5 separate regions of the Homo sapiens genome follow, and regions 1, 2, 4 and 5 are each linked to region 3. Evidence: promoter capture Hi-C in 16 types of primary human blood cells and fetal thymus (Javierre and others, 2016). All regions are on one chromosome and are shown on one strand. Each heading gives the region's core, a stretch centred on a gene start or on the middle of the fragment in contact. The rest is flanking DNA. Distances are from core to core; before and after follow the strand shown.

Region 1 (2,700 bases), core at 9-2,508, 1.1 Mb before region 3:
TGCGCGGACACCTAGGAAGCTACTTGAAAGTAAACACCACGCTCGGGGCGTCCCTAGACATTGCTTAAAACGTGCAGAGTCACCTGTCTTCACAGCAGGGCAGCGCTGAGGTCCCACTGCTGGGGGCGGTGGGGGGCGGCATTGGCCTGGGTCTTCCCCCGGCGGCCGAGCGCCGGTAACACAACGTGTGTGTGTGTAGGCGCGTGTACACACTCTCATACACGGCTAGAAAGGGTCCAGGCGACACACACACTCCCACATACACGGCTAGAAAAGGTCCAGGCGAGACACACACACACACACACACACACACACACACTCCACACACACTCACACGGCCAGAAAGGGTCCAGGCGGTTCCCGGCGCTTTTCCAGCCCTTGTTTTCATGGCGCACCCTCCCGCCAGCCGCCCCCCTCCGCACTCCGTCGTCCGCCCGGCCCGGCCGCGTGCGGTTCCCCGGGAGCCCCCACCCCGTCGCGGACCCCAGCGACCACCAAGTCCGCACGCGGCCTGCCGCAGGCCTGAGCAGAAGGCCCCGCGCACACCCACCGCGCCGCGGCCGCGCGGGAGGCCTGTGCCGCCCGCGCCACCCACTGGCCGGGCCCCGCGGGCGCAGCGGAGCGGGCGGGTGGCCGGCCCGGACGCGCCCTCCCCGGCCGCGGCCCCGCGCGCCATGTGCCCCCGGCGGGACGCGCCACTCCCGGGCCTGCCGCGGCGCCTTTAACCCGGGCCAGGGAGCGGGGCGGAGGGGGCGGTCGGGTGGCTCAGAGGAGGGCTCTTTCTTTCTTCTTTTTTTGAATGAACCGTGTGACGTTACGCACAGGAAACCGGTCGGGCTGTGCAGAGAATGAAGTAAGAGGACAGGCACCACAGCCCCGCTCCCGCCCCCTTCCTCCCGCGCCCGCCCCTCCGCGCCGCCTGCCCGCCCGCCCGCCGCGCTCCCGCCCGCCGCTCTCCGTGGCCCCGCCGCGCTGCCGCCGCCGCCGCTGCCAGCGAAGGTGCCGGGGCTCCGGGCCCTCCCTGCCGGCGGCCGTCAGCGCTCGGAGCGGGCTGCGCGGCGGGAGCTCCGGGAGGCGGCCGTAGCCAGCGCCGCCGCGCAGGACCAGGAGGAGGAGAAAGGGTGCGCAGCCCGGAGGCGGGGTGCGCCGGTGGGGTGCAGCGGAAGAGGGGGTCCAGGGGGGAGAACTTCGTAGCAGTCATCCTTTTTAGGAAAAGAGGGAAAAAATAAAACCCTCCCCCACCACCTCCTTCTCCCCACCCCTCGCCGCACCACACACAGCGCGGGCTTCTAGCGCTCGGCACCGGCGGGCCAGGCGCGTCCTGCCTTCATTTATCCAGCAGCTTTTCGGAAAATGCATTTGCTGTTCGGAGTTTAATCAGAAGAGGATTCCTGCCTCCGTCCCCGGCTCCTTCATCGTCCCCTCTCCCCTGTCTCTCTCCTGGGGAGGCGTGAAGCGGTCCCGTGGATAGAGATTCATGCCTGTGCCCGCGCGTGTGTGCGCGCGTGTAAATTGCCGAGAAGGGGAAAACATCACAGGACTTCTGCGAATACCGGACTGAAAATTGTAATTCATCTGCCGCCGCCGCTGCCTTTTTTTTTTCTCGAGCTCTTGAGATCTCCGGTTGGGATTCCTGCGGATTGACATTTCTGTGAAGCAGAAGTCTGGGAATCGATCTGGAAATCCTCCTAATTTTTACTCCCTCTCCCCGCGACTCCTGATTCATTGGGAAGTTTCAAATCAGCTATAACTGGAGAGTGCTGAAGATTGATGGGATCGTTGCCTTATGCATTTGTTTTGGTTTTACAAAAAGGAAACTTGACAGAGGATCATGCTGTACTTAAAAAATACAAGTAAGTTCTCTGCACAGGAAATTGGTTTAATGTAACTTTCAATGGAAACCTTTGAGATTTTTTACTTAAAGTGCATTCGAGTAAATTTAATTTCCAGGCAGCTTAATACATTCTTTTTAGCCGTGTTACTTGTAGTGTGTATGCCCTGCTTTCACTCAGTGTGTACAGGGAAACGCACCTGATTTTTTACTTATTAGTTTGTTTTTTCTTTAACCTTTCAGCATCACAGAGGAAGTAGACTGATATTAACAATACTTACTAATAATAACGTGCCTCATGAAATAAAGATCCGAAAGGAATTGGAATAAAAATTTCCTGCATCTCATGCCAAGGGGGAAACACCAGAATCAAGTGTTCCGCGTGATTGAAGACACCCCCTCGTCCAAGAATGCAAAGCACATCCAATAAAATAGCTGGATTATAACTCCTCTTCTTTCTCTGGGGGCCGTGGGGTGGGAGCTGGGGCGAGAGGTGCCGTTGGCCCCCGTTGCTTTTCCTCTGGGAAGGATGGCGCACGCTGGGAGAACAGGGTACGATAACCGGGAGATAGTGATGAAGTACATCCATTATAAGCTGTCGCAGAGGGGCTACGAGTGGGATGCGGGAGATGTGGGCGCCGCGCCCCCGGGGGCCGCCCCCGCACCGGGCATCTTCTCCTCCCAGCCCGGGCACACGCCCCATCCAGCCGCATCCCGGGACCCGGTCGCCAGGACCTCGCCGCTGCAGACCCCGGCTGCCCCCGGCGCCGCCGCGGGGCCTGCGCTCAGCCCGGTGCCACCTGTGGTCCACCTGACCCTCCGCCAGGCCGGCGACGACTTCTCCCGCCGCTACCGCCGCGACTTCGCCG
Region 2 (2,888 bases), core at 211-2,710, 1.3 Mb before region 3:
GCACATCCCTGATGTTAGGGAGCTCACAATCTAATCCAGGAACTGGGCACACACACAAACAACGGGATATACTTTCCAGCTATGTAAAGCAAGCCTTCAATTGTGCAACTTTGTTTAACAATATATCAAACAGTATATACCATTCCCATCAGCAGTGCCTTAATCATAAGTAAACACATAGAAACACCTAAAGGAGTACCCATGAAGCTACAGATGCGACGTACAACATGACAACAAACTTCACACCAGTGCCTTAGTGTTCAGTTTCCTTGCAAATTCAAGGAAATAATACTAATGAGTAATGGATCAGGTAGATCCTTTTGCTTGCAAGTAACAGAAACATAAGCTTGCCCACAGTGAAAGGAGACAGTATATGTCCATTTAAACAAGTAGGGTAGGCAAAGACCAGGGATTTAGCCCAGGCAGGACATTATCTCACTTCCTTTCATCTCTGCTTCTCTCTGCATGTTGGCCTCAGTCTACCGCTGCAGGTGGACTTTCCCCAGGCAACAGGAGACCTACAGCTTCATCAACACCTACCCCATGGCCAGAGAGCACAAAGCTCTATCCGGCCAGCTCCAGGCAGGCAGACCTCAAGGCAGCATGCTGATTGGCCAAACTCTGGTCACATGTCCATCTCCAGACCAATTAGTATTGTCCAAGTCTGTTACCAATGAAGTAAGTCCCACGGGTCACTGAATTCAAATTGTTCCATTGCAAAGAGTGTCACCTCTCAGATGCCCTTTCAGAAACCTTAGAGCAGTTATTATTGCAATGATTAAGCAACAATTAATAATAACAAGCCAAAGATCTTCCTTGATTTTAACTTCACGAATTTAAAATTTATTCTTATGTATACATAGCACTGAATTGTATTTGTTTAAAAGCTCAAAATCACTTTTTAATGTTTATGATATATTAATATACAATGTAGGACTAAGAAAAATTATACTTTTGTAGGCCAGGTGCAGTGGCTCATGCCTGTAATCCTAGCACTTTGGGAGGCCCAGGTGGGCGGATCACTGGAGCCTCAAATGCTGGAGGAGGCCCAGGGAGACAGCACGTCTCTATCAAAAAGTCCCCCCTGGGGTTACAGGTCATGACAACCCTGGAGGGGTAATGGCAGTACAAGAGTGTGTCTAGGCCGGGCACCATGGCTCACGTCTGTAATCCCAGGACTTTGGGAGGCCAAGGCGGGTGGATCACCTGAGGTCAGGAGTTCAAGACCAGCCTGGCCAACATGGCAAAACCCTGTCTCTACTAAAGATATAAAAATTAGCTGGGTGTAGTGATGCACACTTTTAATCCCAGCTACTCAGGAGACTGAGGCAAGAGAATCACTTGAACCCGGGAGGCAAAGATTGCAGTGAGCCGAGATCATGCCACTGCACTCCAGCCTGGGCCACAGAGGGAGATTCTGTCTCAAAAAAAAGAAAGAAAGAAAAAAGAAAAAAAAAAAAAAGAAAGAAAAAAGAAAAATTATACCTTTTCATTTAGTTGACTAATAACCATAGGTATTTGTGTTTATTACATACTTTCAAATATTAAATTATATTTCTTTTGAGATACTCCATAATTTAGAATTTTCCTTTATGTAAACTCACGTTTTTCCCAATAACTCTAAGCCAATGAGGCTTGGCTCCTCTCTCTGGGCCTTTCTTTCTCTCTCTCCTCAGTCAAACCCACCCTCTCTGCTGCTCCCATAAAACGTCTAGGAGAACTGGTTAATTTCCTCATAAGACAAGATATTTGGCTTTAGGATACAAATGTGACTGGGCAGGCTCTCTGCCCAGGGACTGGGCCCAGCTCCGAGTGGGGTTTGTTCCAACAGAGAATCACCCTAACAGGCCCCAACAAGAGGATCATGGGTTCCAGCTTCTAGGAATGAGGGCTTTTCTGCTACATGATGCCCAGCACCTTGTCTTCTGTGAATCTTGGCTCAAGAGAATGAATTCACACTTTGAGGAAGAATGGGGAAGAATTTTTGGGTGTGGTTTTTGGTTGTTCTGTGGGGGGTTTTGGCCATTAAAGAAAATAGCTCCCATTTCAGGCGCATATTCACCCCAGGAATGGGGTTGCTGAACTGTGCCTTTGAAGAATGAATGCTAGTACTCAAATCCATCATCACGATGGGCACCCTACCTTAGGGATGAAGTTTTATGTGGTAATAAGTAATAAAATATATATGTACGCATTTCGAGAGACATAGTTACATCTCATGGAATCAGAAGCAGAACAAGCTGTTTCCCCAGAGACTCTTTTTTTAACTTCCTGTCAGCCTCAGTGATGGCTCCACAAGTGTTTATTGCCAATGAGTGACATAATCGCTGTCTCATTCAGACAGCACATTTTGCAAAGACACTCCGTTTGACTCACTCAGACATACTGGGTGTGTGTGTGTGTTGTAATATTTCTATAAGCTACCACGTGCTTTTAATTTATTGAGTTTTCAAATGTCTAGGCATTCACTCAGGTTTAAAAGTAAGTACTCAAGAAATAAGCAATCTATATTTCCAACCACAACACTTGTTAAATTGAATAAACAGGAAAAAAAAGGAATGAAAAATAAGCTTTTTAGAACTATGTTTCAGGCTGAATGAGGTGGCTCACACCTATAATCTCAGCCGAGGCAGGTGGATAACTTGAGGTCAGGAGTTCGAGATCAGCCTAGCCAACATGGTGAAACCCCATCTCTACTAAAAATACAAAAATCAGTTGGGCATGGTGGCAGGCGCCTGTAATCCCAGCTACTCGGGAGGCTGAGGCAGGAGAATTTCTTGAACCCAGGAGGCAGAGTTTGCAGTGAGCTGAGATCGCACCACTGCACTCCAGCCTGGGCGACAGAGCAAGACTCCATCTCAAAGGGACAAAAAGAAAAAAAAAAAGAA
Region 3 (2,782 bases), core at 197-2,696:
TTAAGTACATCTGACTTTTCGGAGACAGCAGCAGTGTGTCCTATTCTTTCTCTCCTGGCTCAGACTCAAAGAACTACTGCAGGCAATTCAGGTAACACTATTTCCTGGTAGTGTGATTCAGGTAACTGGAGAAAAAGGAAAATGCTTAAAGCAATAAACTAGTATAAAAGGGAACCTTCTGGAGTCCCGTAATAGCCAGTGAACTAGAAACTCTTGATATTTTATAGATACTGACACCAGTAGGGGAGCCAGGAGCCAAGTGCAACACCAGCCAAGGGTTGGAAGCAGGCAGAGAGAACAGTCATTGCCTGATCCTCTTGCTTCCACCGCAAAAGAGCGCCCCCACCCCAATACTCTCGTTCCTTAAAATGTCCCTATCGGGACCCACGCAGAAATACCCCCTCTCCCCTACAGTAACTCCGTACAATCCCAAATACCCTGCCGGAGTGTGACAGGCTGCGTCCACTTACTGAGCTGTCCCCCGCCCGACGCTGTACTCGGTTCCCGACCTCCAGCGCCCCCAACGCCGGCTGCTCCAGGGACCCCTGGCGCCCCCATCCCCGGCGGGGTTCCACTTTGCCTCTCGAAGTTGCCTGGATTGGAGAAGTAGTCGCGCAGCCGAGGCAGCTCCCGGCCACTCTCTAACAGCTCGGTATGCAGCTCCAGGGCGGTCAGCAAGTATTGATCGCGCAACAGCTGAGCAGCGATCGCATCAATTGATAATCGGGCCGGGGTCTCCCCGGTGCCCCCCAGGGCCACTGCAGCCGCCGACGCCTCCCCAGGGAGCCCTGGCCGCGCACTGCTTCCTAAGGCCACGGGATCCTGTGGCGACAGCGAGCCCGCAGAGCCAGGATCTAGGCCACTTCCGGCGCCCAGCCGAAGTACTGCCCGCCGTTCCTCTGTTGCAGCTACCTCGTCATCGTCCTCATCCGAATCACTGAGAAATGGATTCACGCCGCCACCACTGCCACTACCTCCAGGCGCCATCGCCGCCATCTTATCCTGTCAGGAGTGTGGGCGCCTCCCTGACTGGTTCCGACGGGCCGCAGCCCGAATCCTCTAGGCCTCAGGGGACACAGCGCACCTCCACAGCCCCGGCCTGACCACGTCCTGCCTCCCGACTTAGAGACAAGGAGTACGCTCCAAGGCAGGAGATCCGGATGCAGCTGCACCTGATGCCTCAGCCTCTGCTGCACCAGCAGCCCGGCTCTGCAGGCGTCTTCCTGGTCTCCAGTCTCGCGAGAACTGGAGCGTGCCCCTGCCCCTCTCCCCGATCTAGCCCCGCCCCAGCCCCGCCCCAGCCCACTTCAGCTCCGCCCATTCCCAGCGCCAGATAGCAAAGATTGAAGGCCCCGCTCTCCGCTCAAAAGCAAAACTCCACCCACGACTCCTCCATGATTGGTCAGAGAAGGAAGGCGTGGAGCGGACTGACGGGAGACTGGCCCGAGAATTATCGCGATAGCAGCAGCGGCCGGGCAGGTATTGGGGGCGTTCCGGAATTGAGGGGTGGTTGTAGTGGTGGCTTAGGAATACCCTCCCGGCTATCGCTTCAGTGGGTAGAGGGGACCACTGCCCGAGAGCTTTAATGGAGCTGGGTCCTGCCTTCGCGCTGAGGAGCCCTCGTTTTCGAGATCAGGCCTGACCGGGATAAGCTCCAGGTAAAGTTCAGGGACCAGTGCGCGGAGGGTGTCGGCGCCCAAACTGTGGTGTCGCGCCCGCGGACGCGCTGTTTCCCTACTGCGCTGCACTTTTTCTCGCTATTTGCTGCCAGTGGTGACATTTTGTCCCCATGGATAGCAAGTGCCCAGGCCTGTAGTCGGAATGTGACTTCCTTTCTTTTCCCTTCTCTGCCACATGCTTGCACACTCGGGAGGCCTAGCGACAGCACGACTTCTCAGCCCCGGAGGTGGTCCTGCCTGTGGGTGGGGACGGGGGCTGGAGAGACTAAACGGAAAAGGGAACGCTGAGGTTGGCATTTGCCTGGATCTGGGAACATCGTCGAGTTGGAAAACAAATTGTTAGGTACTCAATAAACGCTTAGGATTTAATACACGATTTACACAACAGGGACCCTTCAGAATATCTAATGCTGTCTCACCAGTAGACAGATAAGTAAACTTAAGCCAAGAGTGGTTGTTATAAAATCAGCTCCACGCCGGGCGCGGTGGCTCACGCCTGTAATCCCAGCACTTTGGGAGGCCGAGCCGGGCGGATCACGAGGTCGGGAGTTCGAGACCAGCCTGACCAACATGGTGAAACCCCTTCTCTACTAAAAACACAAAAATTAGTTGGGCGTGGTGGCGCAAGCCTGCAATCCCAGCTACTCAGGAGGCTGAGGCAGGAGAATCGCTTGAACCCCGGAGGCGAAGATTGCAGTGAGCCGAGGTCGCGCCACTGCACTCCAGCCTGGGCGACAGAACGAGACTCCGTCTCAAAAAAAAAAAAAAAAAAAAAAAAAAATCAATTCCGCTAATAAGGAGTCAAAGGAATTAACATCATTTCTCTTATGTCCCAAACGATTCTTTATCCACTGTCTCCTGCAACATTTCTGACTCGTTCATGCAGGCTAGAATCAAGGTTTTGGAACTTAGAACTATTTTAAAAGTTGAATGCTTCAGAGAGTTTTGATTTTTTTGATGAAATGTTAGCATATAAAGTACATATCCTAAGTTTAGAAGATCAACGTTTATCTTTTATGTCATTCCTTGATTATGATCTGAAAAGGTAAAGGAATTTCCAGTCAATACAATTAGACTGCTATTTCTTATGGCTCCTATTTTTT
Region 4 (2,893 bases), core at 61-2,560, 1.2 Mb before region 3:
CATATTATATGATTCCATTTATGTGAAATATCCCGAATAGGCAAGATTATAGAGACAGAAACATGAGGGATTGCTTAGGCTTGGGCGGGGCTTGGGAGGAAATGGGTCGTGACTGCCAATGAGTATAGGATTTTGGGGGGTTGTGACAAAAATGTTCTAAAATTTATGGTAGTGATGGGTCTACAACTGTGACTATATTAAAGACAATTTATTATAAGCTTTATTTATTTATTTATTTTTGAGACGGAGTCTTGATCTGTCACCCAGGCTGGAGTGCAGTGGCGCGATCTCACCGCAATCTCTGCCTCCCGGGTTCAAGCGATTCTCCTGCCTCAGCCTCCAGGGTAGCTGGGATTACAAGCATACGCCACCATGCCCGGGTGATTTTTTGTATTTTTAGTAGAGACGGGGGTTTCACCATCATGGCCAGGCTGGTCTCGAACTCCAGACCTGAAGAGATCCGCCCGCCTCAGCCTCCCAAAGGTCGGGGATTACAGGCGCGAGCTACCTCGCCCGGCCTATTACGCACGTTAAATCGGGAATTGTATGGTATAGTACGTGAATGAGACCTTAATAAAGCTGAGTTGTTTGCGTTATTTATTTGTTTTGAACCTGCTTGGTAAAGATGAACTCTGAACTCAATGAAATTGAATTACCTTAGTGATTCCTCAAAACTCCCTGTTAAGGCTTTCCGGTCCTCTGAAAAGCGAAAGTGGGCCGTGACCATCTTCTAAAAACGCCAAAAAATATGGAATGGAGCCCGGGATTTCAGAGCGTAGTCGCTGGGCTCCCAGGCTGAGCCCGCTCCGGGAGCCTCCAGCCGCCCTTTCCGATGCTCCGGGGCCTCCGAGCAACCCAGCGGGCAGTCCCAAGCCGAGGGCTGAACTCCAGGGAGGAGCGCTCGTCACGCCCACACTGGAGGCCGTGGCAGGCCTGGAAACCCGCCCTGCGGGGTCCTAAGAAGCCATTCGAGCTCCCGAAGAGCGAGTCTTCGCAGCCCTTCCCGGCGCGCTCGCATCTGGCGCTGTCCGGAGCCCGCTCGCGACGCACAGGGACGGGAGGCCCGGTTTCCACGGGAGAGGCTGCGGACTGCGGGCCCCGTCCCGAGGCCGGGGGAGTGGGAGACACCCGGCGACCCCCGAGAGGCGATTCTGGCAGTGGTGGCGGTGGCGGTGGCGGTGGCGGCCTACTCGCCCCCTGGAAGCACCGCCCCGCCTGGGTGGCGCGCGCGCCGGCTCCTCCTCTTCCCCTCCGCCGCGGCCCGCCCCGGCCCGCAAACCCAAACACTCCAGGCGCCCGCCCGCCGCGCGTGATTCTCGCCTCGCCGCAGCCCAGCCCTGCGCGCCTTGCCCGGCGGCCCCCGCCCGGCCGCTCCGGGCCCCTGGCCCCGCGGAGCGATGCTGCTGCTGGCTGCCGCCTTCCTCGTGGCCTTCGTGCTGCTGCTGTACATGGTGTCTCCGCTCATCAGCCCCAAGCCCCTCGCCCTGCCCGGGGCGCATGTGGTGGTGAGTGGCCTCCTGTTGCTGCCCCCCGACTTACCGGCCCGCGCGGCCTTTCCGCCGCCGAGGCCGCGTAGCCTACGTCCCTTTTTCCAGGCCGCGGTCCCCAGGAAGGCATGGCCAAATGGGGAAGGTCACCTGCCGCCGTCCACCCCGGCGCTTTTCCCCCGGCCCCGGCACCCGGCCTCGCGGACCCGCCCTCCGCAGCCTCGGGCTCCTCCTAGGGCCGGAGAGCGTGCGACGGGGGACCCCGCCGGCCGCAGGGTTCCCGGGGCCCCAGGGGTTCTGTGGCTGCTCGTGAATCCATGCAACATCCCTGGGATGTGGATGTTTTGTCCTCAGTTTTTCCGATGAGTCAACTGAGGCACAGAGAGGCTGAGAAACTTTGCCAAGGACACAGCGGTCGGTGGTGTGCAGGGTGCGGCGCGCGGCCCCGGGCGGGGGCAGACAGCGGGGAAGTGGGGTCCCAGCCGCCGGGACCCGCCGAGGCAGCTCGGAACTGGAAGATGGCCTGTGCGAGTGACGGGAAGAGCCGCTGCCAGAGGATTCCAGGAAGTGACTCACCTGGGGAAACTGCTCAGAACCCAGCGGGCTGGCGGTGGTGGCTTAGCGGTATTGGGACGCCTGTCCCGTCTACACTGCTTGTCTCTGAGCTCAGCGTGGCATCTGCTGATTGCTGCTCCAATGCAATCCTTTGCTGTTTTCTAGTGGGAAGGATGAGCTAAACGACAAGGCTTGTGTGCGAGGAATGAAGGAGAGGTGGATAGGTGTGATTTATTTCTTGGCGGAAGCTCGCATATTCAGCGATCCCTGTTCTGCAAATGTGGCACCTTTCTTAAACAGAGAGAATGCCTCCTTGCCTGCGCCCAGCACTTTCCCGTTTGCAGTGGCTTTCTCACGAGCATTCTCGTTTGGATCTCCCAAACCCGAGGCACAGTGAGGCGAGGAGTTAGGAGTAAGGAGGGTTGGTTACAAAATTGGCCGCACACCTCTTCCTGTCCTATCTCTGCACCGGAGATCCGAGCCTCCCCGCTGAGCTGGTATAAAATAAGATGGTCGTTTTTCTTAGTATGCTTTAAATCTGTACAAGGGTTTGTGAATGAGAAAATGTATCTGTTTAATTTCTCCTTTGTAAAGCTATTAGCTTTTTCCAACACCTCCTGTTCCTAATGGGGAAAGAGTGTGGATTCATTACAAAAAATAAATAAGAGAAAGGCAAAACTTGACACTCTAAATTCTGAAAGTTTTACATCCGCAAGAGAACTGCTGCCTCAAAAGCGTGGCTTTAAACCTTGGATCCTTTCAGAGCTTGAGTTTATAGAGCATAACTTTGCAAAAACTAAAGCTAAACGCAGAATGAAAATTGGAATTCCTTATTTGTAAGACAGTTTCAC
Region 5 (2,844 bases), core at 345-2,844, 1.1 Mb before region 3:
GTCTGTAAACCACAGACCCACACTGAATTTGGAAAATCTATAGGACCATTGGAATGAGAGGTGTCAGCACATGGTGGACAGCCTTGAAGTGGCCTAAATGCTGTCACATTAGACTGAACTGAGCAGAATGAGAATAGTGAATTCTGTTGAAATATATACATGTGTGAAGAACTTTGTCCTGAGTGCATTAAAAGGCTCAGGAAGATGGCACAAGTGAGACTTTATTTTTCCTGCTTATCTCGGGTCAAAGCAAATGCATTTGGTGTTTTTTGTTGTTGTTGTTGTTTTGTTTGTTTGTTTGTTTTGAGACGGAGTTTTGCTCTTGTTGCCCAGGCTGGAGTGCAGTGGCACGATCTTGGCTCACTGCAACCTCTGCCTCCTGGGTTTAAGTGATTCTCCTGCCTCGGCCTTCTGAGTAGCTGGGATTACAGGTGCTCACAACCACACCTGGCTAATTTTTTGTATTTGTAGTAGAAATGGGGCTTCACCATGTTGGCCAGGCTGGTCTCGAACTCCTGATTTCGGGTAATCCGCACGCCTCAGCCTCTTGGCCAAAGTGCTGGGATTACAGGCGTGAGCTCCGTGCCCAGCCCATTCAGTGTTTCTAATGATGCTAAATAGCTCTTAGTATTTTGGCAGTATTCATTTAGTTTAGTGGTTTTCAAACTTTTCTTCTCTTGACCACTTTACATTCTTACAAATTGTCAACAACCCCAGAGAACTTTTGTTTATTTACATGGCTATATTTATTGATATTTGCCATATTTGAAATGGAAGCTGTTTGTAATATTTATTGATTCATTAAAAATAACAAAAATGGCTGGGCACAGTGACTCGTGCCTGTAATCCCAACACTTTGGGAGGCCAAGGCGGGCGGATCACCTGAAGTCAGGAGTTCAATACCAGCCTGACCAATATGATGAAACCCCGTCTCTACTAAAAATACAAAAATTAGTCGGGTGTGGTGACATGCGCCTGTAATCCCAGCTACTTGGGAGGCTGAGACAGGAGAATCGCTTGAACCCAGGAGGTGGAGACTGCAGTGAGCTGAGATTGAGCCATTGTGCTCCAGCCTGGGCAACAAGAGCAAAACTCCATATATATATATATATATATATATTCACATATATATATATATAAAGTCACATATATATATATATAAAGTCACATATATATAAAGTGACTTTTTTTAAACAAAATTTACTACTTTTCAAAACAAAAGTTCAGTGAGGACGGTGGCATTGGTTCACATTTTCACCAGTTGCTTTAAGGTCTGCATTAACAGCTGGATTCAAATAGCTGCTTCTGCATTCCATCTGTTGTAATAATGTTGTTTTGATGGAAGGATATACAGAAAATCTGGCCTGAGACAGATACGGAGTTGGGAAAGGGAAGACTATTTTACTAGGCTTTTCAGATAATTATGGACATTCTTTTTTGATATCAAACCCAAACTCAACAAATGGTAGTTTCTTAAAGGTTAGTTGCAGTATAGAATTGGAAACTACATCAATGAATGTTTTGTTCTCTGTTACATTAAATTCCATTGGTCCGTCTTGTACTTTGAATGGATCTTTTAACCATTCATGATTTCGTAACATTATGCATTAGTCATTTGGAAAATATGGGTTGACTGAGTGATCAGAAAAATCGCTTTCATCAGTATTACTGCTGATCTTATCATAAAAGTATGCAGCTGACAGTCTCGTGATGGTGGATACTAGTTTTTCCAAATCTTAATTTTTTCTTGAAGGCTCAGATTTCACATTGATGACACGTGGCCAGTTGTTTTTCCTGAAGTGACACACTTGCTTGCTTCGCTTTCTGCACATCTGCCACATACCTAAGTCTGAATTACTATAGATTTCCTGTCAATGGTCTTTCATATAAAAATTATGCTCTCCAGCCAGGCACGGTGGCTCATGCCTGTAATCCCAGCACTTTTGGAGGCCGAGGCGGCTGGATTGCTTGAGCTCAGGGGTTTGAGACCAGCCTGGCCAACATGGTGAAACCCCATCTCTACTAAAAATACAAAAATTACCCGGGTGTGGTGGTGCATGCCTGTAATCCCAGCTACTTGGGAGTCTGAGGCAGGAGAATCACTTGAACCTGGGAGGCAGAGGTTGCAGTGAGCAGAGATCACACCACTGCATTCCAGCCTGGGCCACAGAGTGAGATTCTGTCGAAAATAAATAAATAAACAATACAAATGATGCTCCATGAAAGAAGTGGCAGTTTAGCCCTTGACTTCAGGAGCTGCACAAGGACTTTTGTTCCAGGCAGTTGTCCCGCCCTGGAATGCAGTGCTGCGGAAGCGCGTTGGGCGCATTCTCATTTGTCACACAGAGTATTAAGAAGACATGTCCTCGAGGGTTGCCATTGAACAAAATGATGAATTTTCCTGCTTTATCAAGAGGATTTTAAAGCAAAACTGACACTTTGATTTTTAAAAGAATTTTAGAACTTGTATTTTCTTTGTGTATTATTTATTACTGCGAGTGCGTGTGGTAGTAGAGGTGACAATGACTCCTAGTACAGTTTGGCAAGAACCCCGTGGTTCTTGCCCATGTCTCTGCAGTTTTGCAGAGGCAAAACTGTATTTTCCATACAACACACTGTGGAAAAGACAATGAATGTCTTAGTGTTATTAGGACAATCATTTGTCCTTGGGGGCCCGCAGGGGTCCGTGGACTCACTTGTTGAGAACTGCCATCTGCCAAGGCCGTGCGTCCATTTCTGAGTGCTGATCAATGCTTTGTGACCATTTTATCTCACTTAAAGTGAACGAGCACACTCCACTGTTTCTGATGTGTCCGACTGATTTCTGTCCACATTACTAGGATT

Evidence for each region. The method cuts DNA at HindIII sites, captures the fragments that hold promoters and counts their contacts. A CHiCAGO score of 5 or more calls a contact.
Region 1: the fragment with the promoter of BCL2 here is called in contact with the fragment with the promoter of PIGN in region 3 in 1 of 17 cell types (fetal thymus); the score reaches 8.1 in fetal thymus.
Region 2: a fragment that was not itself captured here is called in contact with the fragment with the promoter of PIGN in region 3 in 1 of 17 cell types (naive B cells); the score reaches 6.7 in naive B cells.
Region 4: the fragment with the promoter of KDSR here is called in contact with the fragment with the promoter of PIGN in region 3 in 1 of 17 cell types (non-activated CD4 T cells); the score reaches 5.3 in non-activated CD4 T cells.
Region 5: a fragment that was not itself captured here is called in contact with the fragment with the promoter of PIGN in region 3 in 1 of 17 cell types (fetal thymus); the score reaches 5.9 in fetal thymus.

Annotation. Positions count from the first base shown.
Region 1 is chr18:63,318,327-63,321,026 of GRCh38, reverse strand. BCL2 (BCL2 apoptosis regulator) reads left to right here and starts at 1,258. Exons shown (of 3, transcript NM_000633.3): 1 at 1,258-1,853; 2 at 2,075-2,700. The coding sequence starts at 2,361. RefSeq lists silencers at 382-451, 482-691, 852-1,041, 2,397-2,636. The HindIII fragment of the contact is 7,545 bases long and covers 1-2,700 here.
Region 2 is chr18:63,444,201-63,447,088 of GRCh38, reverse strand. No RefSeq gene overlaps it. Among named protein-coding and RNA genes, the nearest start is that of VPS4B, 23 kb to the right of the region's middle. RefSeq lists a silencer at 2,239-2,348. The HindIII fragment of the contact is 2,224 bases long and covers 349-2,572 here.
Region 3 is chr18:62,185,720-62,188,501 of GRCh38, reverse strand. PIGN (phosphatidylinositol glycan anchor biosynthesis class N) reads left to right here and starts at 1,446. Exons shown (of 31, transcript NM_176787.5): 1 at 1,446-1,658. RELCH (RAB11 binding and LisH domain, coiled-coil and HEAT repeat containing) reads right to left here and starts at 1,247. Exons shown (of 29, transcript NM_001346231.2): 1 at 471-1,247. The coding sequence starts at 996. RefSeq lists silencers at 562-781, 1,732-1,944 and an enhancer at 932-1,141. The HindIII fragment of the contact is 4,021 bases long and covers 1-2,782 here.
Region 4 is chr18:63,365,623-63,368,515 of GRCh38, reverse strand. It overlaps KDSR (3-ketodihydrosphingosine reductase), which reads left to right and starts at 1,310. Exons shown (of 10, transcript NM_002035.4): 1 at 1,310-1,505. The coding sequence starts at 1,398. KDSR-DT (KDSR divergent transcript) reads right to left here and starts at 1,192. Exons shown (of 2, transcript NR_186602.1): 1 at 657-1,192. It overlaps LOC124904317 (a long non-coding RNA gene), which reads left to right and starts at 1,516. Exons shown (of 2, transcript XR_007066400.1): 1 at 1,516-2,266. RefSeq lists silencers at 938-987, 1,098-1,547, 1,618-1,677, 2,028-2,077 and enhancers at 939-1,886, 1,926-2,220. The HindIII fragment of the contact is 10,630 bases long and covers 221-2,893 here.
Region 5 is chr18:63,335,390-63,338,233 of GRCh38, reverse strand. The region is part of intron 8 of KDSR (3-ketodihydrosphingosine reductase); the gene reads left to right. Among named protein-coding and RNA genes, the nearest start is that of BCL2, 17 kb to the right of the region's middle. The HindIII fragment of the contact is 6,476 bases long and covers 1-2,844 here.